Regions from separate parts of the Homo sapiens genome. Here all the other regions are linked to region 7. The links are contacts of gene promoters, found by promoter capture Hi-C in blood cells and fetal thymus (Javierre and others, 2016). All regions are on one chromosome and are shown on one strand. The core of a region is centred on a gene start or on the middle of the fragment in contact, and the rest is flanking DNA. Distances in the headings are between cores, read along the strand shown.

Evidence for each region. Contacts are between HindIII fragments. The CHiCAGO score rates a contact against its expected background, and 5 or more counts as called.
Region 1: a contact is called between a fragment that was not itself captured here and the fragment with the promoter of NTF3 in region 7, in 1 of 17 cell types (endothelial precursors). The highest score is 5.7, in endothelial precursors.
Region 2: a contact is called between a fragment that was not itself captured here and the fragment with the promoter of NTF3 in region 7, in 1 of 17 cell types (endothelial precursors). The highest score is 6.0, in endothelial precursors.
Region 3: a fragment that was not itself captured here is called in contact with the fragment with the promoter of NTF3 in region 7 in 1 of 17 cell types (endothelial precursors); the score reaches 5.1 in endothelial precursors.
Region 4: a fragment that was not itself captured here is called in contact with the fragment with the promoter of NTF3 in region 7 in 1 of 17 cell types (activated CD4 T cells); the score reaches 5.8 in activated CD4 T cells.
Region 5: a fragment that was not itself captured here is called in contact with the fragment with the promoter of NTF3 in region 7 in 1 of 17 cell types (megakaryocytes); the score reaches 5.9 in megakaryocytes.
Region 6: a fragment that was not itself captured here is called in contact with the fragment with the promoter of NTF3 in region 7 in 1 of 17 cell types (endothelial precursors); the score reaches 5.5 in endothelial precursors.

Annotation. Positions count from the first base shown.
Region 1 is chr12:5,733,765-5,737,440 of GRCh38, reverse strand. The region is part of intron 13 of ANO2 (anoctamin 2); the gene reads left to right. Among named protein-coding and RNA genes, the nearest start is that of ANO2, 210 kb to the left of the region's middle. The HindIII fragment of the contact is 1,675 bases long and covers 1,552-3,226 here.
Region 2 is chr12:5,904,207-5,907,949 of GRCh38, reverse strand. The region is part of intron 3 of ANO2 (anoctamin 2); the gene reads left to right. The region is part of intron 3 of LOC105369621 (a long non-coding RNA gene); the gene reads right to left. Among named protein-coding and RNA genes, the nearest start is that of ANO2, 39 kb to the left of the region's middle. The HindIII fragment of the contact is 1,513 bases long and covers 855-2,367 here.
Region 3 is chr12:5,845,020-5,848,535 of GRCh38, reverse strand. The region is part of intron 4 of ANO2 (anoctamin 2); the gene reads left to right. Among named protein-coding and RNA genes, the nearest start is that of ANO2, 98 kb to the left of the region's middle. The HindIII fragment of the contact is 1,543 bases long and covers 916-2,458 here.
Region 4 is chr12:5,102,289-5,105,834 of GRCh38, reverse strand. No RefSeq gene overlaps it. Among named protein-coding and RNA genes, the nearest start is that of KCNA5, 60 kb to the right of the region's middle. The HindIII fragment of the contact is 885 bases long and covers 1,649-2,533 here.
Region 5 is chr12:5,878,039-5,881,744 of GRCh38, reverse strand. The region is part of intron 3 of ANO2 (anoctamin 2); the gene reads left to right. Among named protein-coding and RNA genes, the nearest start is that of ANO2, 65 kb to the left of the region's middle. The HindIII fragment of the contact is 4,681 bases long and covers 1-3,706 here.
Region 6 is chr12:5,754,752-5,758,411 of GRCh38, reverse strand. All of the region lies in intron 10 of ANO2 (anoctamin 2), which reads left to right. Among named protein-coding and RNA genes, the nearest start is that of ANO2, 190 kb to the left of the region's middle. The HindIII fragment of the contact is 1,979 bases long and covers 497-2,475 here.
Region 7 is chr12:5,430,822-5,434,477 of GRCh38, reverse strand. NTF3 (neurotrophin 3) reads right to left here and starts at 2,370. Exons shown (of 2, transcript NM_001102654.2): 1 at 2,136-2,370. The coding sequence starts at 2,153. RefSeq lists an enhancer at 1,028-1,553. The HindIII fragment of the contact is 3,984 bases long and covers 1,818-3,656 here.

The DNA of each region.
Region 1 (3,676 bases), core at 1,140-3,639, 300 kb before region 7:
TCTGTAACAAGTCCCTGGCAGGGGTGAGATTATAATCCATTTTTCTTTCTGTAGCCAGGTTTCCTGTTTATCTGTTTAACCCAATGAGCCATGGTAACTTCCTGGGAGGTACATGATTTGAGGAGCTCATGTGCTGGCTGAGAGGGGCCTGGCCAAGACTGGGTTTACCCAGGGCCTAAGGAGACTTTCCGGATGGGATCTCCGTGTGAGGTTGCTGCAAGGCTGGTTGGTTCTGTAACGTGACTGGCGTGCCCCACATGTGCACAGGCCAGCCTCAACTTTTCCTTTAATGCATTTCTAGTTTGGATTAGCACACATCAATTTCAGTTCAATTCTGAACATGGCCATTAAGCATCTATTACATACTAGGTTTTTGTATGGAATATGGAATTATCTCAGGTGTAGTGTCTGATCTCCAAAGGGCTGCATCCAGCAGGGTGCTCTTTGGTCTATAAATATTTAGAATAGAATGGAGAGTGTGTGAGAGAAATTGCTCTGGCTAATGTAGAGAGGAAATTCTTAAAAAATCAGGGTTTTGAAGACTGGTTGGCTTTTAATGGGCAGCAAAGGGAAGAAGGGGTGCCCACGAGAAAGAAACAGCAGCAGCCTTGACCTGGGAAAGCGAGGCAACAACAAGATATCTTGAAAGCCAAGTTGGCTTCAGGGGACAGGGCTCAGTATGCAGTGGTGACAAGGAAAAAGTATAGTCTGGTGACCGGGTCAGGGAGGGTCCTGATTGCTAATCTGTATCTCCCAGGCCATGGGAAGGCATGAAGATCAGGATAACAAGGTACGAATGACTTGAACAAGGGTCCTAGGACTTATATGAAGCATTTAACCCACATTCAAAACGAGGAGTGAGTGGAAGGCAGATGTTACTTGGGCACTGGAGGGAGGGAGGCAGGGGTCCTTGAAAGCCATGATTAGAAGTTTTTTCTATTTTAACCAGACACCTCCCAGTATCAGGAATGCTTGCGAGTCTAGCTTTCTATAACCTTAAGACTTCTTTCTTCCCCATGGTATCCACTAGGAAACACTTGCTTCCCAGGGGAAAGGAGGGTGCCAACTGACATACACCAAAGCTTGTGCACCCTCTAGTCCTCCCACCTGGGTGCCTTCAGCAGGTGGGTCACCCCAGGAGGGGTAGAACAAGCAGTAGGGCTTAAGTCCGGCTTGGAAACCAGAGACAAGCCAGAAGAAGACTGGAGACTGCTTTCTTCTGAGGGTGGGGAAGGAAGGAAGCAACCAAGCCCAACGGCCCACCCCCCTGGGCCAGTGCAGGTCTGCCTGTGGGTGTCCCTGTGGACATCATCATGGGACTTATTGAAGGACTCCTCTGATCCTGTTTGTCCTTTTTGCAGGGAGATCTGTCAGACCTCCAGAGTTTTATACTCTAAAATGGGATAATCTTCAGCTCAGTGGGCCACTCTTGCCCATTACCTTCTGTCACATCAGGAATACCCTGGGCCTCTTAGAGAGTGTGGCCTTATCTGAACACAGATATCCTGCCCACCCATCTCTCTCCCACCCCTCGTGTATAACATCAAAGCTTAGATATCCTCAGTGACTTCTTTCTGGTTTCACAGGAAACCAAATCCTCTGCCTACCTTTCTAACCTCAGCTTGTGTCATTCTCCTCCTTGCTTAGACCTTCCAGCTACCCAGGCCTTCATTCTGTCTCGAGCTCATTCCAGCCTTTGCCCTGGTTATTCCTGTTGCACAGACTGCTTTTCCCCCAGACTCTGCAAGGCCTGTCTTCTCGGCTTTTGTGTCTCAGTGAAAACATTGCCGTCTTCAGATTGGCCTCCCCCAACTCCCCAATCTGAAGCAGCCATTCTGCTTTATTTCTTCTGCTATTCTTATCCTCATCTGCTAGTTTCTCATTCGTGTGCTGGTTTACTCACTGTACCTTTTCTCTACTTGGAGAAAAGTTCCAGGGAAGGAGGGATCTTGTGTCTAGGACTGGCAGTATAGCCTCAGTGCCTGGAAAGAGCTCAGAGTATAGCAGGTGCTTGATGACTCCTGGTTGAAGACATTTGTTGGATGTATCTCTGGACTTACCTCTTTACATCAGACAAATGTGGTCCTGAGCAGGCTTGGGTTCTTCCTCCCAGCTGGCTCCTGGGGAGACTGACCACGTGGAAACAGTTCCCAGAGTCTCGATGGGAGGGGTGATGATCTGTGATGACTTGGTATCAGATAACCCATCCAGTGCTGTTGTGTTTGGGGAACATCAGGAGTATCAGGCTGATCTGCCCGTGGCTGGGTGTGTCAAAGCAGCCCTCCCGGGGGCTGGATTCTGCTCTGGCCAGGAGCTCAGTTGTCCAATTTGAGGGATTCCATAACCTCACCCCACTTGCTTGGCTGCAAAGAGGGAGGTCCTTGTCAGGCCTGCTTCAGCTGAGTGCAGCGCAGCCTGTCTCTTCTTTGAGTTTCGGATTCTTGTCTGAGTGCTTAGGAAGCTAGGCTTGCTTTAAAAAGTTAAGGGTTATGGCCGGGTGCAGTGGTTCACGCCTGTAATCCCAGCACTTTGGGAGGCCGAGGCGGGTGGATCACCTGAGGTTAGGAGTTCAAGACCAGCTTGGTCAACATGGTGAAACCCCATCTCTACTAAAAGTACAAAAAAATCAGCTGGGCCTGGTGGCATGTGCCTGCAGTCCCAGCTACTCCGGAGGCTGAGGCAGGAGAATTGCTTGAGCCTGGAAGGCAGAGGTTTCGGTGAGCCGAGATCATGCCACAGCACTCCAGCCTGGGCGACAGAGTGAGACTCTGTCTCAAAAAAAAAAAAAAGAAAGAAAAAAAAGATGAGGGAGCTTTGAACTGGGGCCCAGCATGGGGGGAGGTGAGCCACAGCCACACCTAGAGGGATTCAAGCAAACTCCTCTGTGTGCTGCCACATCATGTCCTGGAAAGCCAGAGATAATCAGAAACATCCTGTCGGTCAGCTGAGGGTGCCTCCCTTAGCCCCTGTGCAGGGTCTGGAAGGGGAGAGGCTCCTCTGGCTTGAAGAGATGTAGAACCCATGTTCTGGAACTCACTGAAAGATACTGCTAAGTTTTTAATTAAAATCTCCCATTGGAATAATGTAGAAGAAAAGCAACCAAATTTCAGAGGCCATGGGGGAGAACCTCAAACCATACTTCTCTAAGTATTCCTGCAGGTTATTAATTGTTACAGGCAAAAGTTGCTCTGCGGGAAATGATGTGCTTAGGAAAATTAAGCAAGCTTCTTGACAGTAGTACTTTTCAGAGTTTTGAATGTGCTCACTGTGACTCTCAGAAAGTCGATACGTTCTAGTGTTTTCCAGTCTTTTAGACCTTGGAATCCTTTTTTAGCTGAAATTCTCTTGGCACACACATTAGGAAATGCTGTGTTGGAGAACGGATGAAGGTGAGAGACAAAATCAAGTGCACTTTACAAGCGTTCAGAGATTTCTGTGTGTTCTGCATGGTGCCAAGTACTGTGCAAAACATAGAATAATACAGAGCAGGTAGCTGATCTTTATGTTAGGATAAGAAGACTCTCACATGCAAAACAGCGAGGAAAAAATAAAAGAAAAATATGTAATGAAGATCTACAGTGTGTGGTATAAGCTATAAAAGTTTCGGAATTCAGAGAGGGAGGAGACCCCACCTGGTAGGTATGTTGCAACAGTTGGAGAAGTCCTCCTGGAAGGG
Region 2 (3,743 bases), core at 362-2,861, 470 kb before region 7:
TCTGGCATCCCAGCTCTGCCTGCTGAAGGCTGAGAGCATCAGTGGTATGCGTGGGAGCTGCCTTCCCCACTGGGCTCCCCAGGAGCACGATGTAGCAAGAAGAACTTAGGGTATGGAGAGTGAAGGGCCAGGTTCACTGATGTGTGTCTTTGTGCAAGGTTCTTAGCCATGCCGGGTCTATTTTCTTATCTGGGATCTGTAGCCCACACCGTTCATGGGCGAAATACTTCATGAATTGTAATGTGTCATAAAATAAGCCAAAGTTGGCTCTCCCACCCTGTCTACCTTTGTGCTTCAATTTTCCTTTTTTTTTCCCCCTCTTTATGGGCTGAGTTGAATTCCCTTCCTATTTTCTGAATGAATGAAACTGCTTGATGAGTGGATTAGGCATCCCCAAAGGGAGAAGGTGCAGGGAGTTTACTGTCTTGTTAGGAAATTAGAAAATTCATGAACAGAGAGTTAACAGTTCAAGGCATATGTGCCAATTGCCTCTTTTCTGGGCTCCCAGAGTAAAAGGTTTCACAAATACTGGTTATTTGAATACCATGATTATGAGTTTGAATACCACTACTTACTAGATTCCTAATTTTAGGCGTAGCCATTTACTATCTGGACTATTATTTGCTGAATATTTTTGTTAAATTGGCTCACTTTTGAAACTTAAATTTATTTTAAAGGGAAACATTCTATCATTATCAGAAATGGAGAACCAATATCACTGGCCAACAGATAGACAATAATTATAAAAATAGGCACAACCGAAACAAAACGACATCATTCATTTCTAGCTGGATACTGTTGGCTGCAGGAGATCCGAGACCGGGGCCTGCTTACTCTTTGTTGAGAAGGAAGCTTAGCTAGCATCAGAGAGGTTAAAGACATATTGGAAACAAACGGAGACTTTATTTTTGCAGGATAATTGAAAACGGACTTTCTTGTTATTTAAAAATGTTATTTGATGCTATGTTGCATCCATCCATCATCTAATGCCTCTCATTCTGTACTTGGGCAACATTACCAAAGCACCTAGTACACCTTCTAGAGCTATGCTTGCCGCTGAATGGATTGAAGACTTTTAGAACAGAGACTGTGTCTTTCTAATTTATTTTTATTTCTATTTATTTTATTTTTATTTATTTATTTATTTATTTATTTTGAGACAGAGTCTCACTCTGTCACCAGGCTGGAGTGCAGTGGTGCGATCTTGGCTCACTGCAACCTCCACCTCCCAGGTTCAAGTGATTCTCCTGCCTCAGCCTCCTGAGTAGCTGGGACTACAGGTGCGCACCACCATGCCCAGCTAATTTTTGTATTTTTAGTAGAGACTGGGTTTCACTGTGTTGGCCAGGATGGTCTCAATCTCTTGACCTCGTGATCTGCCCGCCTTGGCCTCCCAAAGTGCTGGGATTACAGGCATGAGCCACTGCGCCTGGCCTTTATTTTATTTTTGAAAAATAGGGATGGGGTCTTGCTATGCTGTTGACCAGGCTGCTCTTGAACTCCTGGCCTCAAGTGATCCTACCATCTCCCAAAGTACTGGGATTACAGGTGTGAGTCACCATGGATGGCCTCTTTTTTTCTTTTTCTTTTTTTTTTTTTTTTAACAATGTGTGACATATTGATAATATAATAGCCTTTAGTGCTGTTTGTTGAATGATTCAAAGCATAATGCCTAGCAAAGATAATACATTGTAGAGTTGCTCCAGGAGGCAGAGATGCCCAGGAGCTTGAGTTGACAGGGAAGGCCAACTGGAGAGGAAGCCCTTGGTGCCTTCTCCTAGCCCTGCCCCCAATTATAGCAGCCTGGGATCTCTGTGTGTCAGCTCCTATCCTTTTCCTGCACTGAAACCTTCTCCAATTCCTGCCTCTCATTCAATAGCAGTATTGCCTTTGGTTCTCCCATCTCCTTCCTCAGTCTGGGAAGAAAACACCACAGCAATCTGCAGCCCGCTCAGAGCCACCCACCCTGAGGAGACGCCCGAAGAGAGAAAGCTAGAAGCCGGGGTGGGATGAAGGGATAGGGGAGAGAAGGTGAGAGAGAGGAGACCTGTAGGGTGAACCTGAGTCCCTGAACAGGCTGTCATCTGGTCCAGTGTTTTGGGGATTTGGTGACCTGTTGGGGAAAGAGGTTGAGCCCTGGGGTGTTAGCAGATTTTTTTTGTATCTTTCCACCCTTCCTTCTTTTCTAGTTCTGGCCTTCTCTTCTTTCTTTCAACCCTCTCTGGCTCTGTGCCATTGGGCAGATTCCAAGGTCATAATGATTACTTTGTCATGGACTTGGATTTGTCATGGGCTCTTCAGAAAAAAGACGCAGACATGATTTCCTAGGGACAGTATGTCAGGCACTGTCTCCTTGTCCTGAAAGCTTCTCTGGTGGTGGGATCTTTTCCAGTCATCAGGAACTTCCTATTCAGTGTTGCCAGGAATACCTGCTCTCTCTTTCCTGCCACTGGGGCCTCATGAATCTTGGGCCCCTCCCTCTCTGATCCCTGTACTTCTGCTTTTGAAGTTATTAGTAATAAGAGATGCTTCTACTGTGCTAGGAACATAAAGTAACTCATTTAATCTTTAAAACCACTCCATGAAGCGTATACTACCACTGCCCCTATTTTGCAGATAAGAAAACCAAAGTTACATAACTTGATCAGGGTCATCCCAGCACTGCCCCCAGGGTGATGGGGGAGCTGACATTCCACACCGTCCTCCCTGCCAGAGCCCCAGGTGGCTCCAGGTGCCACACGGCCCTAACACGCAACAGCACCTGGTGCTCCCTTCAATTCTTTCAGCGTTATCCCCCAGCCTCACCCCCCTGGGAACCCTTGCTGCCAGTGAGGGATTCAAACCCTGAGCCTGAGCTCTCAGTCACTGCCGTGTCCTCCCTCTCCAGGGATGAGGTTCCTGCTGTCTGAGCTTGGCATGGGGAAAGGGGAGTCCTAGAGTCCACTGTTTGGATTGTCAGCCACTTAAGAAAGTTCAGGGGAGGAGAAGAACACCTCTGAACTTGAGAGTATCCTCTTCTTATCATTTTGTTCCCTGTTCCCTTTGTTCTGCTGATCCTGTCTTCCCTCCTGTCAGCCTAGGTGGGAGCTTGTGGGTTGGGAAAGAGCTGGATCCCTGCAGATACCTTTTAATTACCCTTGGGCTGTGTTTGTGGTGAGAATCAGTCTGCTCAGGACTGCCCCTGAGACAGGTGTATGGGTCTGGAGCCAGCAGGCAGGGGTGAGAGGTGGCAAGGCTTCCCAGGGGGAGCAAGGCTAGAGGATGACACTGCAAAATTTGAAGATCGAGAAGGAGCATCGGGTGCTGTGGCATGTCGGGGCCGTGTGGTACCAGGGTCACCTGGGGCTCTGGCAGGGAGGACAGGACGATGTGGAGTGTCAGCTGCCCCCGGAAGCAGTACTGGGATAAACCCACAGGTGTGTGCGCCGCTCATTCGTGCTACAGGCATCAGGAGAGGTGATGGTGGGCCTGCGAGGCGTCTGCCCTGGGCACACTCAGCCTTCCTCTTCTGTGGCTTCCCTTCCATGTGGTTTTCCCATCACTCTCCCTCCTTCCAATCCCACTCATTCAGACCCTTCAGTGTAACCCTGCTTTGCGGCAGCTGCATTTTTCTCAGGGATCAAAGCCTTAGGTGAATGGTGGTGTATTGGGCACCAGCAGGTGGAGCAGGTTCTGGAAATCACATCATATTGGCTCTTTCCTTTTTCAAGGACCATGGTCCCAGATGGGAGTCCCCCCTTCTT
Region 3 (3,516 bases), core at 438-2,937, 410 kb before region 7:
CAAACGTGACAAGTGGTCCACCTTGAGTTCCACTATTGGCTCTGCCACCATTAACCTGGGGTTACTTGATTCATGTCTTAGTCTGTTTCCTAAAATGGACTTGAGATGGATGACAACCAAAAGAATTTTGGTTGTAAAAGGACAGATAAAAAGAATCATGTAACTGGGGAGGGGGGGAAGTAGGGAAGTGCAAGGGAAATGATGATAGTGGAAACTAAAAATAAGGGTGATGGATGCAGGAGAGACAGAGTTGCATTCTGGGCTTTCTGGTAGCCAAGACAGAAAGGACTGTGGCTCACAGTCGTCTATAGGAATCAGCATCTGTTTTGCCAAAGGAGGCAAATTTTTCCTGTTGTAAATGACATGAACAATACAAGGGACTATGTTTTCAATAATAAGTTCACACAAGCTTCTGCAATGTTCTTCATGTGACCATTGTTTGCACTGATTCTGGATAAAACTGAGGATGTAATGTTAAAGTGTAGTTGAGGGAGGGTTGAATACAGAGTAATGTGTGAAAATTTCTGAGGGGCTAACTGGGTTCAAAGATAACGGTTCGAGCAGAAATGCCACTGACACTTTAATTCTTTTCGGTTGAACCCATGTTTTGAAATGTTTATGTCTACTAAACTGCATTTATTAAAGAATAAGTTATCTTCTTTTCCTGAAGAGAAAACATATGTAATTGCTATTAAGCATTATTTATCAGTGTGAAAAAAATTGGTGTTTCCACACTGAGCTGATAGAATTCCAGTTAGAAAGCAAAGAAACTTGGCATTTTAGTTAGCTTCAGTGGCCCTTTAGGAGGGAAAGGTAATTCCATTTAGCTTTGGAAATGATTGGAAATTGTTCTCAGGTACTTGTTATTGTCTCTGTAGAGACTCTGATTTGGTAGCCCTGGCTTTTGCAAAAGCTTCACAGGAGGACTTCTTCCTGGTTCATGGTGCTCGCCCGGCCTGAGGGACTCTACTCAGCCAGGACTGCAGCACCTCTTATTTCTCAGTTATCCAGATTTGAGGCTTGTATTAGGGTTCTCCAGAGAAACAGAACCAACAGGACACACACACACACACACACACACACACACACAGAGGTGTTATGAGGAATTGATTAATACAATTATGGTGGCTGGGAAGTCTCAAGATCTGCAGTTCATGCGATGGAGACCCAGGAGAGCTGATGGTGTAGTTCCAGTCTATGTCCAAAGACCTGAGAACTAGGAAAGCCAATGAAGAAGCTCCAGCAGCCTCAAGACCCAAGAACTGATGTTTCAGTTCAAGTTTGAAGGCAGGAAAAGACTGATGTCCCAGCTCATGCAGTCAGGCAGAAAGAGTTTCCCCTTACCTGTGGGAAGGTCAGCCTTTTTGTTCTATTCCGGCCTTCAACTGATTGGATGAGGCCCACCACATTAGGGAGGGTAATCTGCTCTACTCAGCCTACTGACTCAAATGCTCATTTCATCCCAAAACACTCTCATAGATACACCCAGAATGTTTGACCAAATATCTGGGCACCCAATGGTCCAGTCAAGTTGACACATAAAATGAACCATCACAAGGCTTGTACTTTCCAAGTCAATAATCCTCTTTGTTAGGGAATGAATAGTGGCATTCAAAAAGATATGTCCAAGTCCTAGCCCTGGAACCTGTAAATATAATCTTATTTGGAAAAAAGATCTTTGCAGATATAATTAGTTAAGGATCTCAGGATGAGATCATCCTGGATTTAGAATAGAACTTAAATCCAATGACAGGTATCCCTATAAGAGAAAGGCAGAAGGAGATTTGAGAGGGGAGAAGATTATGTGAAGAAGGCAGAGACTGGAGTTATGCAGGCTCAAAGTGAAGAACACCTGGGGCCATCCAAAGCTGGAAGAGTCAAGAAATAATTTTTCCCTTACAGCCTTCAGAGGGAGTGCAGCCCCACTGATACCTTGATTTCAGGCTTGTGACCTTCACAACTGTGACAGAATAAATTTATGTTGTGATAATTTGTTATGGCAGCACTATGAAACTAATACACTCTTCTTCTGGGCAGGAAGCAGTAAGCAGACAATTGAAGACCTAGGTCTCTGGTAGGCTTGTTGGCTTTCTCTGTATTCCAAGAATCCACTTTGCAGATTCTAAGATAACTTGGAGTAGTCTTGTTTATTTGTTGTCATTGGGTTTGGGAGTTTTATGGAAGAGACTTGGTGCATGGATCTTCCTACGTGACCTTGGCATGTCTATGATGACTTTTTCATGTTCCATTCCTGTTTGATGAAATAGAAGTAGAGGCTCACGTTGTTATGAATGGTGGAAGGAGACCCAATGTGGCTCATGTCAAGAAGAGCTTACTCCACTCAAGAATTATTTTCCTATTTATACTTCTATATCCAAATACAGTAATTGGCTTAAGTAACAGCTTCTGCCTCAGTAAGAGGTGTCTGCAAAGAAGGATATTAGCATCTTTTAAAGCTTGTCCATATTTCATAATTCTTACATTTGACTTTGAGGAAAAAGATTCATAAAACCGCTTTGAATTATGCCACTCAAAACAAATTATCTTGAGATCAAAAGTCTTATAAGTATAAGTTGATAAATAAATTAATTGAGTTTTAAATATAGTTAATACTGCATCCCATGTGCTAGACCATTTCGTAAGAGCCTTATGTACGTGATTTGTTTTCACCTTCACAACAACGACATGAGGTAGATATGACCGTTAGCTTCATTTTATAGATGAGAAAATTGAAACTCAGAGAGGTTAATAAACTTATCCAAGGGCACACACCTTGAAGGAGATAGTCAGGGACTCAAAATCATGTCTGTCTGACTCCAAAGCCACGCTCCTGCTCTCTCACTTTACTGAAAAATCCATAACTGGACTTGAGGTAGTGGATAGTGTGGTCTAGAATGGCATTTCTCAAAGTATATTTTTTAGAATGAAAGTCTTTGTTCTTCTTTTGGATTTTTTTTTTTTTTTTTTTTGAGATGTAGTCTTACTCTGTCGCCCAGGCTGGAGTGCAGTGGAGCGATCTCGGCTCACTGCAAGCTCCGCCTCCTGAGTTGATGCCATTCTCCGGCCTCAGCCTCCTGAGTAGCTGGGACTACAGGTGCCTGCCACCACGCCCAGCTAATTTTTTGTATTTTTAGTAGAGATGGAGTTTCACCGTGTTAGACAGGATGGTCTCGGTCTCCTGACCTTGTGATCCAACTGCCTCGGCCTCCCAAAGTTCTGGGATTACAGGCGTGAGCCACAGTGCCAGGCCATTTTTTTTTTCTTTTTTGAGACAAAGTTTCAAAAAAGTCTTGCCCAGGCTGGAGTGCAGTGGTACAGTCACGGTTTATTGCAACCTTGACTTCCTGGGCTCAGGTGTTTCTCCCACCTCAGCCTCCTGAGTAGCTGGGACTATAGGCACACACCTCCATGCCTGGCTAATTTTTGGTAGAGACGGGGTTTCCCCCATGTTGCCCAGGCTGGTCTCGAACTCCTGGGCTCAAGTTATCCACCCACCTCTGCCTCCCAAAGTGCTGG
Region 4 (3,546 bases), core at 842-3,341, 330 kb after region 7:
ATATACACCATGGAATACTATGCAGCCATAAAAAATGATGAGTTCATGTCCTTTGTAGGGACATGGATGAAATTGGAAATCAATCATTCTCAGTAAACTATCGCAAGGACAAAAAAACAAACACCGCATGTTCTCACTCATAGATGGGAATTGAACAATGAGAACACATGGACACAGGAAGGGGAACATCACGCTCTGGGGACTGTTGTGGGGTGGGGGGAGGGGGGAGGGATAGAATTAGGAGATATACCTAATGCTAAATGATGAGTTAATGGGTGCAGCACACCAGCATGGCACATGTATACATATGTAACTAACCTGCACATTGTGCACATGTACCCTAAAACTTAAAGTATAATAATAATAAACAATAAAAAAAAAACAAAAAAAGAAAGACAAAAAATAAAAATAAATAAAAAAAATAGAAAATCAAATGTCCCGAATAGCCTCCCTTCTTACAGTAGGTGCATTTCAAAATACTTTGTGAAAATGTAACAAAAACAGACAGAATAAAGCAATACAATAATGATGATAAACCTGGGCCCTGTTCCTTCAGTTCACTTATATCACATCTAGTACTCAGCCTTTAAGGTCATAAAAGGGAGAAAGTCCACTTGAAGTAGAAGCAGAATTCTCCAAAAGCAGTTTTAAACTCACAGCAGGCATAGCACCCAAGGCTTAAAACCTAATGTTTGATCTATATAATAGGTATTTTAAATCAGCAACATTTGAAGAAATGGGTAAAACAGTGCTTTGAAACATCGTGTTACTAGCATAAAAGTAATCTACCAATTCAAAAGGGAATTACATTTATAAGAAACTGTAATAATAGATATGATGAAATATCATTTTTGCCAGAACTCAATTTTAGATACTGAGTTCATCTGACCTTTAAAGTTCAAGAAAAGTCAGTATTCCAGTGTGTCTAAATAAATCCATGCAGCTTCTGAATGGAGCTGGAGTCCGTGTGTTTCTCAGTCTCCCAAGACTTAGACTCCTCAAACCCTACTCAGAACAGCAACAGATGTCAATCTGACAACCTATCTTCTCCTCCCTCACACTAAATTAGGACCCTATAGAACCTCAAGAGAGTTTATTCAGATTACCCAGAGCAGACCATTCAGGTCAGGTTCAGGGAGCTGGGAGAAGAAAGTTATCAAATCCCTGCCACAGGCTGACGTTGAAGAAAGCCTGTTTCTTCTCATCTGCTGGGATCTGGGTCTCCAGCACTTCTTCAGCCTGAGAGGCTATTTTTCTTTCTCTCTTTCTTCCTCTTTTCTTTAAATAAGTACCCAACGGCTGGGAATGGCTTCCTGGAACCCCTTCTTTGTTTCTCCCGGAAATGATGATAAATTCATGGGTTTGCCTAAGAAAAATAAACCCAAGACTTCCAGCTGCTGGATTCTGTACTTTATTCCCTAGATTAGACAAAAGGCTTATTCCTCTTTCAAACATACCAAATTATCCCCAGATCAAAGTTTAAGCCCTTGAAACAAGTGATAAATGATAAGGCCCACAGGCCCACGGCTGTTCCTAAAAGGGCTTCTGTGGTGAGAGAGCAAATCTGGTTCCAATAGTAGGAAGAGAAGTTAAGGACTTTCTAATCCTATTGTAGTGGGGAGAGGATCAGACCCGCAGTCCTCAAGCTTTTACTTAACTGGTCATGATGCCTGGGGGACACGTTTGGTCCTAGGTGTGTCTGAACATGTGTAGTCAGTAAATAATGTGCTAGAGCTAATTCTTAGCTTTAGTGTTAGTATCTAGAATAAAAAATGTTAAAACAGTATACTTTTGAATAGCTTAAATAATTGAAGGAATGACACATTCTGGTGAGTTTAATATTTTAATAGCCAGAAAATATTTTTGCTCCTAACTCAGGTTGAATTTTTTTTATATATATTTATGAGCTGATCTCATTGTGTAACAGAAAGAGATTCAACACTGACTCTTTCACCATCCAGCAGGGGCCCCTGGGCCAATTTGATTTCCTTCTCAGAGCCTCAGTTTTCAAATCTGTTGGACTATGTGATCTTTAAAGCACCACGCTGCTCTAATATTCCATGGCCTTGCCTTGAGGACAGTAGACTCCACCGACTCTTCCTTTGACTCTGAAGGATCTCAAAGGAGGATCATTCTCCAAAGTGTCAACTCTGATACTGCTGGACTTGGAGAAGGAACAAGAGATTGGGTTGGATGTGCCCTTCTCGTGGAAGATGAGTGCTGCTTTATTTTAAGCCAAAATCTAATATTAATTCCACAATTTATTTCAACATGCATTTGCTTCCAAGTGCTTACTAGATGCAAGCAGCTGTTCTAGGTGCTTTGGGTGCTATAAGGAAAAACAAAACATAAATGTAGCCTTCAGGAACTCAATAGGGGAAATATGACCTGCATTGGACAGATAGCAATATTAGAAGGTAGCCTGGATTAGTGCTGAACTCCAGGTAAAAGGAACTGAGGGATTATTTGGAAAGGAAAGACACATATCAAAGAAATCTGGCTGAAAACATTGAGCAGATAGCTGAAGAAAGCTTACTTTCTAGTGCTCTGATATTTTTCCCTCTAAACTACTCTTTTAAAGGCCACTACAAAAACTTATTTTAAAGGCCACTAGAAAAACTTATTTCTAGAAGGCAAGAGTCTTCATGCTATTTATGGTAGGGAGAACTGAATGTTATATATAAGTTAGTTAATTTTATTGGTGGTTTATAAGATGTACTAATAACATAACATTGAGAAGGGTCAGAGGGCAAACACTAGTAAAACTTTAGGAATTTTTTTGCTGAAATTTTAAAATTTATTTAACTAGCAGTATATGACACATGGAGCTCTGTGTGTTGATGGTGACCTGTGATTTCCATCACCAGTATGGGGCATCTCATCCTCTTCTCCATCGGACCAGCCTTAGGAACAGGAACTCAGACTTTCACATCTTTGTGTGTGGTAGGTGTTCTTCCCTACTTTTAATAGGTGGATGTCTTGTTTATCCAGTCAACATGGAGATAGTAATGTTCTTTCTGATCTCTCAAATTATTAATGTATCTTTTGAAGAATTACTTTCCAAGTTAACTGAAGTTGAGCAACTAGAGAATTTCCCTACCCCAGAGAGTAACTGCCATTCCCCTTGCTTCATGCTTTCGTGCTGAGATGTCCACTGAGTAATACGTCCAGCCTTTCTCCCTGGCTTGGTCCTGGCCCTTCATGGGCCTTTACTTAGACGGACTTGGTGTATTAACAACTAAGCATATTGTGGTCTCTCTTCTTTTCCCTTTCTTTGGCACCACTTTCCTGACACTGAGATTGGGCATGTCTACACTCCAAACCATAATTCTTCCAAGATAATGGAAGGGCTAATTGTGGCTATCTGTCTCAACCACTTAGTTGAATTCAGCTTAATTCCTAGTAAAAATGGCATTTTGGTATTCGTCTGTCTGACTCTTGTATATTCTCAGCTGATTTAGAACTCAGAAATATTTAAAGAATGAGATCAGTTATCATCCACAAAACTCAGCATCTTAGAGCAGGGTTATTAAGCAACGATAACTA
Region 5 (3,706 bases), core at 216-2,715, 450 kb before region 7:
GCCCTCATAAGGGGTTTATATTTCTCCTGTTGGAGCTGGAGGGAGTGATGGGGGGCTGGGGGTCCATAAACCCCTTTAATTGTTGTATTGTGACTCACCTGAACCTGGTCTCTCACCTAGTCAAAAACCTTGACTTCTTAGCATGATGCCTTGCATCCAGAGGATTGGTTAAAGGCTGTAAATCTCAAAAATGAGCATGCTGTATAGCCCCAGGAGAAATTACAATATTGCCCCTTCTGAATTTCAACCCCTTTGGCTTTGAGAAGGCTGTTGATTTTATTATTGATCATTGAGTTTGATCTGATGCATTTCACAGAGACTTGGCTCTGTGGCTGTGCCCTTGGCTCCAGGGGCAGCAGCTATACTGATGATGAGTTTTTCCATTCCCCCAGCCAGAAGGCAAGAGGTGGTAGGGTAGATGCACATGTACTCCTCCCTTTCTTCTGGAAAGTCTGATTTGGATGCATGCATATGTGGGTTTCTTTAGATTAGATGGTGTGTGTTAAAAATTGCTCTTGACATTCTGCCACAGAGAGGGGGATAGATGGAGTGACCTTTGGAAGGCCCCTCTCAATAGAATAGTTATAAAGTGTTTTCTTGCTTTTCTGTAGACTGCACATTTCTTTTTTTCTGTAGACATACGTAGAATACTAGACAACTTATTCTGGAAGGGATGCTCTGAGGTCATCTTTGTCCATTGCTCTGGTTCTGGAAAGAATCATCATAAATCCAGTCCATCATGAGGATAGTAGATTCATTTTGGGGTAGCCAATATAGTTGCGCTTCCATCCATCCACCCACCCATTCCACCCCTCAATCCACTCATCCATCCATCCATCCATCCCCCACCTACCCATCCACTCATCCACCCATCCACTCATCCATCTATCCACCCACCCACCCACCCATCTATCCATCCATCCACCCACCCATCTATTCATCCATCCACCTATCCATCTCTTCATCCATCTGTCCTTTCATCCATTCACCCATCATTTATCAAATATCTACTAAATTCTAGGAACACTCCTAATCTGCTCCTTATTATTTAATTTATTTTGGTATTTCTATTAATTGAGAAGATCCATTCAATCCTTGCTTGACTTGATTTTTCTATTGCATTTGAAACAGTTGACTCCTTCCTCCTGCTTGACATTTTCCCTCCCTTGGGTGTCCAGGAGCCCATGATTCTTTCCTGAATCTCCTCTGCCTCTATGGGCTTCCTCTTATTCTCTTTCATGTGTTCTTTCTTCCTTATCTGTCATTGAAGTATCAGTGTTCTCAGAGTTCTGTCTTCAGATGTTTTTCTCTCCTTTTTCCTTTCCTTTGCTCTTCTTACACACACTTTTCTGGGCAATTTCATACATTTATGTGGCCTAAGTTACTATCTAACTACCTACGATGACTCTCAAATGCTCTTCTTTAACCTGCACTTATCCTGCGTTCCCCAGGCTCTTATGTCTGTCTCCTGAACATAAATGCCTGGATTTATGTTTTGGAAACATCTCAAGTTTAAGGTCTTCATAAAAAAACTCAGTATCTTCTCTGTAAAACCTGCGACTTCTTTATTCCTTGTCTTGCTGGTTGTCTTAACCATTCTCCCTGTCAACTACAACAGAATCTGGAAGCCTCCTTAGATTCTCTCTCCTCTCGTGTTCTGGTGGACACCAGGTCATGTCAATTCCATTTCCCGTATCTGTTTCTACCTTACCTTCCCCATTGCCACAATCTAATTCCAGCACTCACTATCTACCCTTGTGTGATTGAACTTCTTTCTAGATTTGCCCCTCCAAACCATCTTCATGCTCTATCAGAGTGATCTTTCCAAATGCAAATCTGATTAAGCCATTTCCTCATTAAAATCTTTCAATGGCTTCTAAGCACCTCAGAACGAGTTCACACTTCTTAAGCATGTTGTCCCAGGCTTTCACAATTAGTCTCTTGGCTACCTCTTTGCTTTTACTTGACCCCAAATGCACACCCTAGGCTGGAGTCAAACCAAACCACTTGTCATGCTGCTTCTTGCCTTCAGCCCCTGCCCCTGCTCCTCTCTCCATCTGAAATGCTCTTTCTTCTCTTAATATGTTGGTCTTAGCTCAAGCATTGTCTCTTCTATGAAGTCTTCTTTGACCCCTTAGGTTTCCTCTTCCCCACTTGTATTGCACCCTGCAAATATTGTAATAATTTGTTTTCATGTCTGTTTCCCTCCTAGATATTGAGCTTCTTGACAATGAGAATAGTGTCTTTTGTCCTGGTAACCCTAGTGCTTCACACAGGTCTTGTATCGAGAGAGAGAGCTTACTTAGCACGTGCTTATGACTATACCGTTCCCTAAGATTATTTTTCCTCTTCTGATCTGTATCTGAGCTATAATAACTTGTTTATTTAGACTTTTCCTTTTATCTTATCATGTCAGAAGTTCACCAAGAAACTGAAGGGCTTCTGAAATTGGCTTTGTTTCTTGGGCTTGAGTACAGTCCCTTCTTATTTACCTGCCTGCGGCTTCATCTGCTGATTATTGATGATTTGAAGAAAAAATTGTTTATGTGGAATCAGCTTCACGTGGCTCCTTAGCTCTGACCCTGCTTCTGCTTCCTTTCCCTTTTCCCCATCCTTATACCTGGGGAGCAGGAAATGCAGACAGCTTCAGTGTCAAGCCATGTTTTAAGTGGAGAAGGATGAAGAACACTGTCATGTTCTCGCAGGCCTTCCACACTTGTAGACGCACCAACTGTCCCACTTTTAGTGTTCCTGATGGTCAATTTCTCTTTCTTTCTTCAAACCAAATGTTAAGCCTGAGCAGGACATGATTAGCAATCTGCTTGAGGATAAAATGTTATAAGGTATGCGTTTGTTCCCTGCTCCATCTCCTATGGAAAACCACACCCTCAGTGAAGGTACTACTGGACAGTGTGTTTCTTCAGGGAGTCTCACATCTCAGTGCTGCCTTTCCTGGCATCTCTAAGTCACAACAGATCCTGTTTCCAGCAAGTTTGTATGGCCACATAAAATGCTGTGTAAATCAGTGTGGGAATGTGATGTTCCCAGTAATCTGTTGGCTCATTGAGGGATCGATGATCTCTAGCTTTATTGGTATTGGGTACTATGTTATTTGTTTGTCTATGTTATTTGTCTGTGTTTGTCTATGTTGTCTATGTTTGTCTATGTTATTTGAATCCAGCTTAAGAGAAAAATCAATAATGCCAATGTCAGGGGCATGCATCTATCTTATAATTAGTGAATCAATGAATTTATCAAGTGTTTTGGACATACTTGTTATGACCCAGGCATTGTGCCAGGGCTGGTAACACAGTGGGGGACAGAACTGGTGCCCGCCCAAGGGGGCAGCGTGGTATTATGGAAAAGCACTTAAGTGCTATAGACCTGAGCATGAATCTCGATTCCACCACTCCTTAATGTGTGATCCTCACCAGATGAGTCAACCTCTCTGAGCCTCAGTTTCTTCATCTATAAAATGAAGATTATTCTACTTCCCTTACAGCATTATCGTAAGAATTGGAGATAAAATACATCACGCACAATCTGGTTTGTACAGTGCCTCACATTTAATAGACAGAGAGTCATAATTATTATTCCCATTCATAGTAGTGATTGTAGTAAAATGGAAAACCAGAACTTTGTGTGCCTTGGCTTACTGCAATAGCTGAAATTTATAGTGGTACATTCCCTGATAACAGACATGACT
Region 6 (3,660 bases), core at 237-2,736, 320 kb before region 7:
TTTTGTTCTCATGCCTATCTCAGTCTTAGGCAGGCTCTGTGCACTCAAGCCTCAGAAATGACGGTTTCTTAGAATTCATGTCCTCCCTCTGCCCCTCACAATTAAACTCTGTCCTTTACTGGTACAGATTCTTGGGTGGGAGACAGTTTCCTGCCCTTCCTCAGCAGTAACAGACTTCTAATTTGTAATTTTGCAGAATCTCGGGCCTAGGAGAGTTTCCACCCTTTCCACCAAGTACCATCGGCTGTATGTGCAACCCATCTCGGGCTTCAGAAGCAGTGGGTCTTTGCCTAGGTCCTTGGGTCAGGTCCCTTCTTCCGTTTAAGGCTTTCGATTTGAATAAGAGAAGATTCCAGGAAGTGCATGGTTTTTCATACCTGTGTGCAACTTAAGGGGACTGACTCTCTTTGGTCTCTTACCTTACCCATTATCTTCCTTATGAGGTCTATGGAAATGACCTTGTGCATAAGGGCAAACTGCTCTTGTGTTTGAAGCTTCCAGTTATTACACTCTGTCATGCTAACTTATACTCATCTTTCTGAATTTTTAAAATTTTAGCTATTTCTTCTTACTTTTACAGGGACTATCGCATCCTCCCATTCTCTGTCAAATGTAAAACTATTCACATATCCCAGTTTTCCCTGGACGGACTTGGCATTTAAAAAAAATTCAGTTCTCCTGGTTACCTTACAACTTCAGCTCTCTGATGAGCTCAAGCAAAGTTATAATTTCACAGATTATCCAGATTTCTCTTGTTGTTAGGCTGGGAACTATATTCTCTTGCAATTGTCTGCATCATAAGTGGAAGCAGAACCTGTGGTGGTGGGTAAATAGATCCTATTCACTGTTCTTCTTACCCTTTAGTTCTTCTATCAATGTGTGGACAGAGCTCTCATTTCCCTCTTGTGTTTTACGTCACAGGCTTTTGGGAAATTAAATATATTGCTCCTTGGTAGATTGTACTTTTCTCATCAGGCATCCATAGTCAATATTTATCTAAGGGGAAATTGTATTTTAGAGGCTTAACTGGTAATTTACAAACTTTATAAACTTGTAATAAAAATATATGAGTTGGTAAATTTTCTTTTTACAAGAAATCACTTTTCATTCTAAAAGTAATTTATTAACAAAGTAGAAAAATTTTAAGTGCAGAAAGATAGAAATAAAGAAATACAGTGACATCAGCAAGATGGCAAAATAGAAAGTCCCCAGGCCTCACCCTTCTACTGAAACACCTGTTTAGCAACCATCTATATACAAAATAGACCTTTATGAGAGCTCTGGTTTTCAGGTAAGAGGTTGCAGAACCCTGGTGGAGCTCAAGACCTAGAAAAACTTCACTGAGAATGCAGGCTCATGCTTTCTGGCAGCAGAACCACCAGCCATGGGCCTGGAAGCAGCCTTGCTCACTTGAACACCTAGTGACAGCACTGCCTGTTCACTGCTCATAAGGAACTCTGCCCATATACAGACCCTACAGGAAGCTGGCTTCCCATGTCCCCAATGGCATGACCACTTCCACAGAGCAGGGGACTTGGTGACAGACCCACCCACTTTCCCACAGACCCAGGGGCAGCCCTGCTCATCTGCCCGTGGACCCATCAGCAAACTTGACTGCTCATGGAAACCAAATGCAGCCCTACTCTCATGCAGATCTCAACAGAATCTCTGTCTGTGGCGCAGCAGCCCAGTCCTCTAGTGGACCTTGGAAGCAGGCCCACCTGCCCACATACCCAGCAGCAGGCCAGCCCACCCACAGACTCTGGCAACAGGCCCACCCACGGACCATGGCAGCAGATCCACCCTTGGACCCCACCCAGCTTAAGTCTGCCCGCAGGCACTGCCTGCTTACTCTGGCAGCTGATCCACCCATAATCTCTGACCAGCATGACTGATGAAGGTCTTTGCCTGCTGAAAGCAGTCAGTAAGAACTGGAAGAGGTGACTACTTCTCAAATACACAGACACCACTCTAAGGCTACAAGGATCACAAAGAATCAGGAATTCTCGATACTACCTTATTAGGAGCTGAAAAAGACTCCAGTAACTTACCCTAAATAAATTGATATCCATAATCTGCTTGACAAAGAACTCAAAATAATTGTCTTAAATGAGCTGCAAGAGAACAGACAGCTAAACACAATTAGGAGTATAACATGTCAACAAAATCAGAAGTTCAACAAACATATAGAAATAATAAAAAAGAGCCAAAGTGAAATCCTAGAACTGAAGAATACAATGACTGAACTAAAAAACTTAATACAGAACTTCAGTAGCATACTTGGTCAAGCAGAAGAAAGAATCATTGTACTTAAAGACAAGTCATTTGAAATTATCCAGTCGGAAGAACAGAAAAAACAGAAAGGTTGAAAAGTGAAGAAAGCCTAAGATCTTATGGGACACCATAGAGTGAACCAATATATGCATTCTGGGAGACTCAGAAGGAGACTAAAGAAAGAAAAAGAGGAAGAAAGCTTATTAAGGGAATAATTGCTAAAAACTTTCCAAATCTAGGAAGAGAAATGAACATCCAAATTCATGAAGTCTCAATGTACCCAAGTACATTGAACCCAAAGAGGTTAACACTGAGTCACCTTAAAATTGAATTTGATGGACTGGATTAAGAAAATGTGGCACATATACACCATGGAATACTATGCAGCCATACAAAATGATGAGTTCATGTCCTTTGTAGGGACATGGATGAAGCTGGAAACCATCATTCTCAGCAACCTATCAGAAGGACAAAAAACCAAACACCGCATGTTCTCACTCATTGGTGGGAATTGAACAATGAGAACACATGAACACAGGAAGGGGAACATCACACACCAGGGCCTGTTGTGGGGTGGGGAGAGGGGGGAGGGATAGCATTAAGAGATATACCTAATGTAAATGACGAGTTAATGGGTGCAGCACACGAACATGGCACATGTATACATACGTAACAAACCTGCACGTTGTGCACATGTACCCTAGAACTTAAAGTATAATAAAAATATAAATAAATAAATAAATAAATAAAATAAATAAAAATAAATAAATGTAAAAAAGAAAAAAATTGAATTCTCAAAAGTCAAGTAGAGAATTTTGAAAGCAACAAGAAAAAAGTGACTTATCACAAACAAGGGAACCATTATAAGGCTACTAGTGGACTTCTCAGCAGAAACCTTGCAGGTGAGGAGAGAGTAGGATGATATATTCAAAGTATTGAAATTTAAAAAACCTGCCAATCAAGAGTACTATATCTAGGTCAAAGAATAAATCAAAAAAGGAAATTAGAAAATATCTCAAGACAAATGAAAATGAAAGCACAACATATTAAAACTTATGAGAGGCAGCAAAAGCAATACTAAAAGGAAGTTTATAGTGGTAAATGGCTACATTTAAGAAGAAGAAAGATCTCAAATAATTAATTTTACATCTCAAGTAACTACAAAAGAAGAAAAAACTAAGCCCAAAATTAGCAGGAGGGAAGAAATAATATAGATTAGGGGATAAATAAATATAAGACAGGATATGAAAACAGAAAAACAAAAAATTGATGAAGCTAAGAGTTTGTTGACGAATCCTTAGTTAGACTAATGAAAAGGAAAGAAGTTGCAAATAAATAAAATTAGAAATGAAGGATGAGACTTTGCACCTGATGTTACAGAAATAA
Region 7 (3,656 bases), core at 1,121-3,620:
CACACTTTGGAAAAACATCCCCATCCCTCCCTGACCACTCACTCAATGGTCACAATCTCACTCCATAGATAAGCATATCCCATTCACACACAACCAAACCCTCTAAGTCCAGCTACACTCCAGTCCTCACCAACACAAAATCCCACACACTCTCCCTAGGGGAAATACCCCAGACTTTCTATCTCCCTTCAACACTGTCTACCGGAGCCTGCATTATTTTCCAACCCCCTTACCTCCTAACACGATACCTAAGTCTGTGTGTTTGCGCCCAAGGCAGAGGGGGTTGGAGTTTATCCTCCACATTCTACCTTTCAGCTTTCTTTGTGTGACATGTCAAAAAGGAATTGAGGGCAGGCGGGAGGCAGGCTGAGTACGCTGGAGAACTTCTGAGTGTTGTGAAAACAGGACCTCTGGAAAAGTCTCCTCTATGTTACAACTTTCTCCCATCCTGACGTTTAGGACAGAGCGCTTCCATGTTCTCCTCGTTCGCTGTTTTGCGGGGTAGGAGCGGGCACCTCTTTATTTAAAAAGCAGGTCGCTCAGTGCACTCCATAATCAGCTGAGTTACAAACATCAGGCTCCAGGAGAAACACCCACCCCTTCCAGGCTCCCCTCCCCTCTCAGCAGGCCCTCGCCCCCGCCTCTTCACACACATAAACAAGTCCACAGGCGCACAGTCTCCCGAGCTCTCTAGCTCTGAGCCCGGCGCTCCCGGGAGCAACCTCCATTCGGACTCAGAACCTGCCGCCCGCCGCCAGAGGCCGAGGCCAGACGATCTTTTCGGTGTTTCCCCCACCGGCAATCCCACCCCAGCCTCGATTCCAGCAAAAGGGATCCTTTCTAGTCCACAGCCCCGACACCGTCGGACGCAAGGGTCTCAGTGCCGTGCATCTGAAGCGCAGACGACGAATGAACGCAGCAGCCAAACTCCCGCAAAGAAGCAGCGCCTCCTGGACGCGCACCCACTCCCGCGGAGAGCAACAAGCAGAATCCTACTCCCCCATCCCATGCCCTCGGCCCTCGCCCCTCCTGTCCCTAACCTTCAACTCCCAAGCGTCCCAAATTTCATCAGGAGCATCCACCACTGAGTAAAGCTCTGGGGCAATGGGACAGTTCGGTCCGTCGTGGGACCTTTAAACTCCGACCTGGCTGGCTGCGCGGGTGCCCAGGTCTCCCGGCCTCCCACGCCACCGCTCAAAGTCCGAGAACAGGCTGGACGATACCGCAAGGAGATCCCCTGGGATGGCCGGGCCCGGGTGCCCGCCGCTCCCCGGAGGGGTCCCAGATGTGCGGGCTGCGTACGGAGCTCCAACATCTGCGCAAAGGCCCAGGGTGGGGTGGCCACCGGGTGGGCGCTGGCCAAGAGGAGCCCGGGGCGCGAGGTCTTTTCTGAAAAAACCCTTTCGGGGAACTCCAACGCAGGTACGCGGCGCGTGGCAGTGAGTCCCAACTCCCAAAACTGGAACGCGAGGTTCCGGGTCCTGAGCTGCGCGTCCCCTCCCCCCAGCCCACGCCCGGGCCAGAGTGGTGCTGGGGCGAGCTGAGAATCAGGCTCAGCGGCCGGCAGAGTGCAGGGCGTGTGCAGGGGAGCTGCCGCGGCACCTCCCCGCCCGGAGTTCTGTCTGCCACCCCCTTTTGTTATAGGATGCGCTAGGAGCTTTCTCGGAGGAGCAGGCGGGTCGGTTGGGAGTGGTGGGTGGTTGATTCTGTTGAATCTCTTTCCTGCTCTTTCGTCGTCCCCATTTCCCCTCTTCTGCCCCCACCCTTTCCAATCCAGGTCCCTTAAACCTGATCACTTTCCCAGATTGAGGGAAGCTTCTTGGGCAGCCGAGGGACAAGAGGGGAGGAGGTGGAGAAGGGTGTCCGTGTCTGTGTGTGTGTGTGTGTGTGTGTGTGTGTGTGTGTGTGTGTGTGTGTGTGTAGCGGGGTGGCTGCGGTTGCGCTTCGGCCTGAGCAGATCCCAGCGCAAACTTTGGGGAAGACACAAGCCCGGGAAAGTGAGTGAGCGCGGCGCGATGGGGGTGGGGCGGGATGCGGATCTGGGGCCCCCCGCACCAGTCCACTGGAAAATCCCTCCCCACGTGGACCCCCATCCCCAAACCTGCCCACCCAAGGTGCCCGCCGCCTCCCCTTACCGTGGCAAAAGTAACCATGGCATCCGTGTGGCCGTTTCCAGGGACGTCGACATGAAGAGAAAGGTGGACGCGAGCTCGGTCATTCAAAGTCTCCCCCACCCCGCCGCAGCCACTACCCAGCAGGGGAAAAAGGAGAGGAAGAAAGAAAGGAGAGAGAAGAAAGTAGTTGCGCCGGGCTGCGTCGCGGGGCGGTGCGCGGAGCTGTTCGGAAGGGAGAGGAGCTTCAACTCTGAGTCCCGTGAACAGAATCTGCGCGGTTATAACCAGCCAACCCGGCCAGATGGCTCCGCGCTCAGCGCCTTAACCCCTTCCGCGCCGCGCCGCCCTCCCCCGCCGGCCCGCGCCGCGCCGCGCGCGCCCGCGCCCCAGAGCCCCCCCCCCGCCCTCACTTCGGGACCCGTGGCGGGGAAGGGGTCATTTCTCCTGGCCCCTCTTGAAAAACAAAACCAAACCAAACAACAACAGCAACAAAAACTTCCAAATCTGTAGTATTCTTCAGTAACCCCCACCCTTGAGTTCCCTTTTAGAGATCCAGGAAAAAACGAAACGTTAAATGTATCGTAACAGGTTACATGTTAGTGTCTTCAGCCTTTCTTAGTGGTTCTTTTTCTTGAAATTTTTCTTTTTGATCTTTTTTCTTTCAAGATTTTCTTTACAAGGCATCAGGGCCTTTTCCTGCCTTTTTCCTCAGGAGGATCAGGTCTGAGGCGTAAACTCCTCCTCCAAACCTTAGACCCTTCCAGCTCCAGATCTCTCCCCACCCCCTACCAAGCCCACCCGCCACTCCTCCCCCCACCCCACAGCACGAACACGCCCAAGGACAATCGCTCCCCGGCGAACTCCCCGCTCCCGGGGACCCGCACCCAGGACGCTGTGTCGGCGGTCAAGGGAGGTCAAGGTAGAGGGGCGTGGGGGCGGGTGGTCCGAGGGACTAGGGAGGGGCTGTGTGTGCGCGCGCGTGTTTGCGGGAGCTTGAGTGTGGAAGGGAGAGGGAGATGGATCGCAGCCTCCCATTTCACCCATCCTCCAACTTCTAAACCCCTTCCTTCCAAACTAGGATGGGGCCCTGCAGCTAATCACTCGCCCAGCACCCACCAGTCTGCACGCGGGGACAGCGCGAGAAGCAGGAAAGGCGAGCAACAAACAAACCTGTTCGTGGCGCCCCGAAAGTAATGACGCTCACTTCCCCACCGGTGGATACATTCGAGGAGAGGATAGGGGGAGGGGGTCAAAATCTCTTATTTGGAGATAATTTTAGCTGCCCGTTAGACCTCACTTGCTCCGAGCCGTTCTCTCTAAATTTACCAAGTTAAGTCATCTTGATTTCGCCCATTTGCCATCGAGAGAAGGGGGAAAAATACCACTTAGTGATCAACGAGAAATCGAGAGCCCGGAAGCAGAGTTTTGCCCACTTGCCCGCTTCCCGAGTCCTTGCGTGGTGGACCTCCGCTCCAAGCCCCTCATCCCTTCCTCCCTGCCACTTCAGCCGCTCCTCACATCATCTCCTGCCAGGACCTTTTG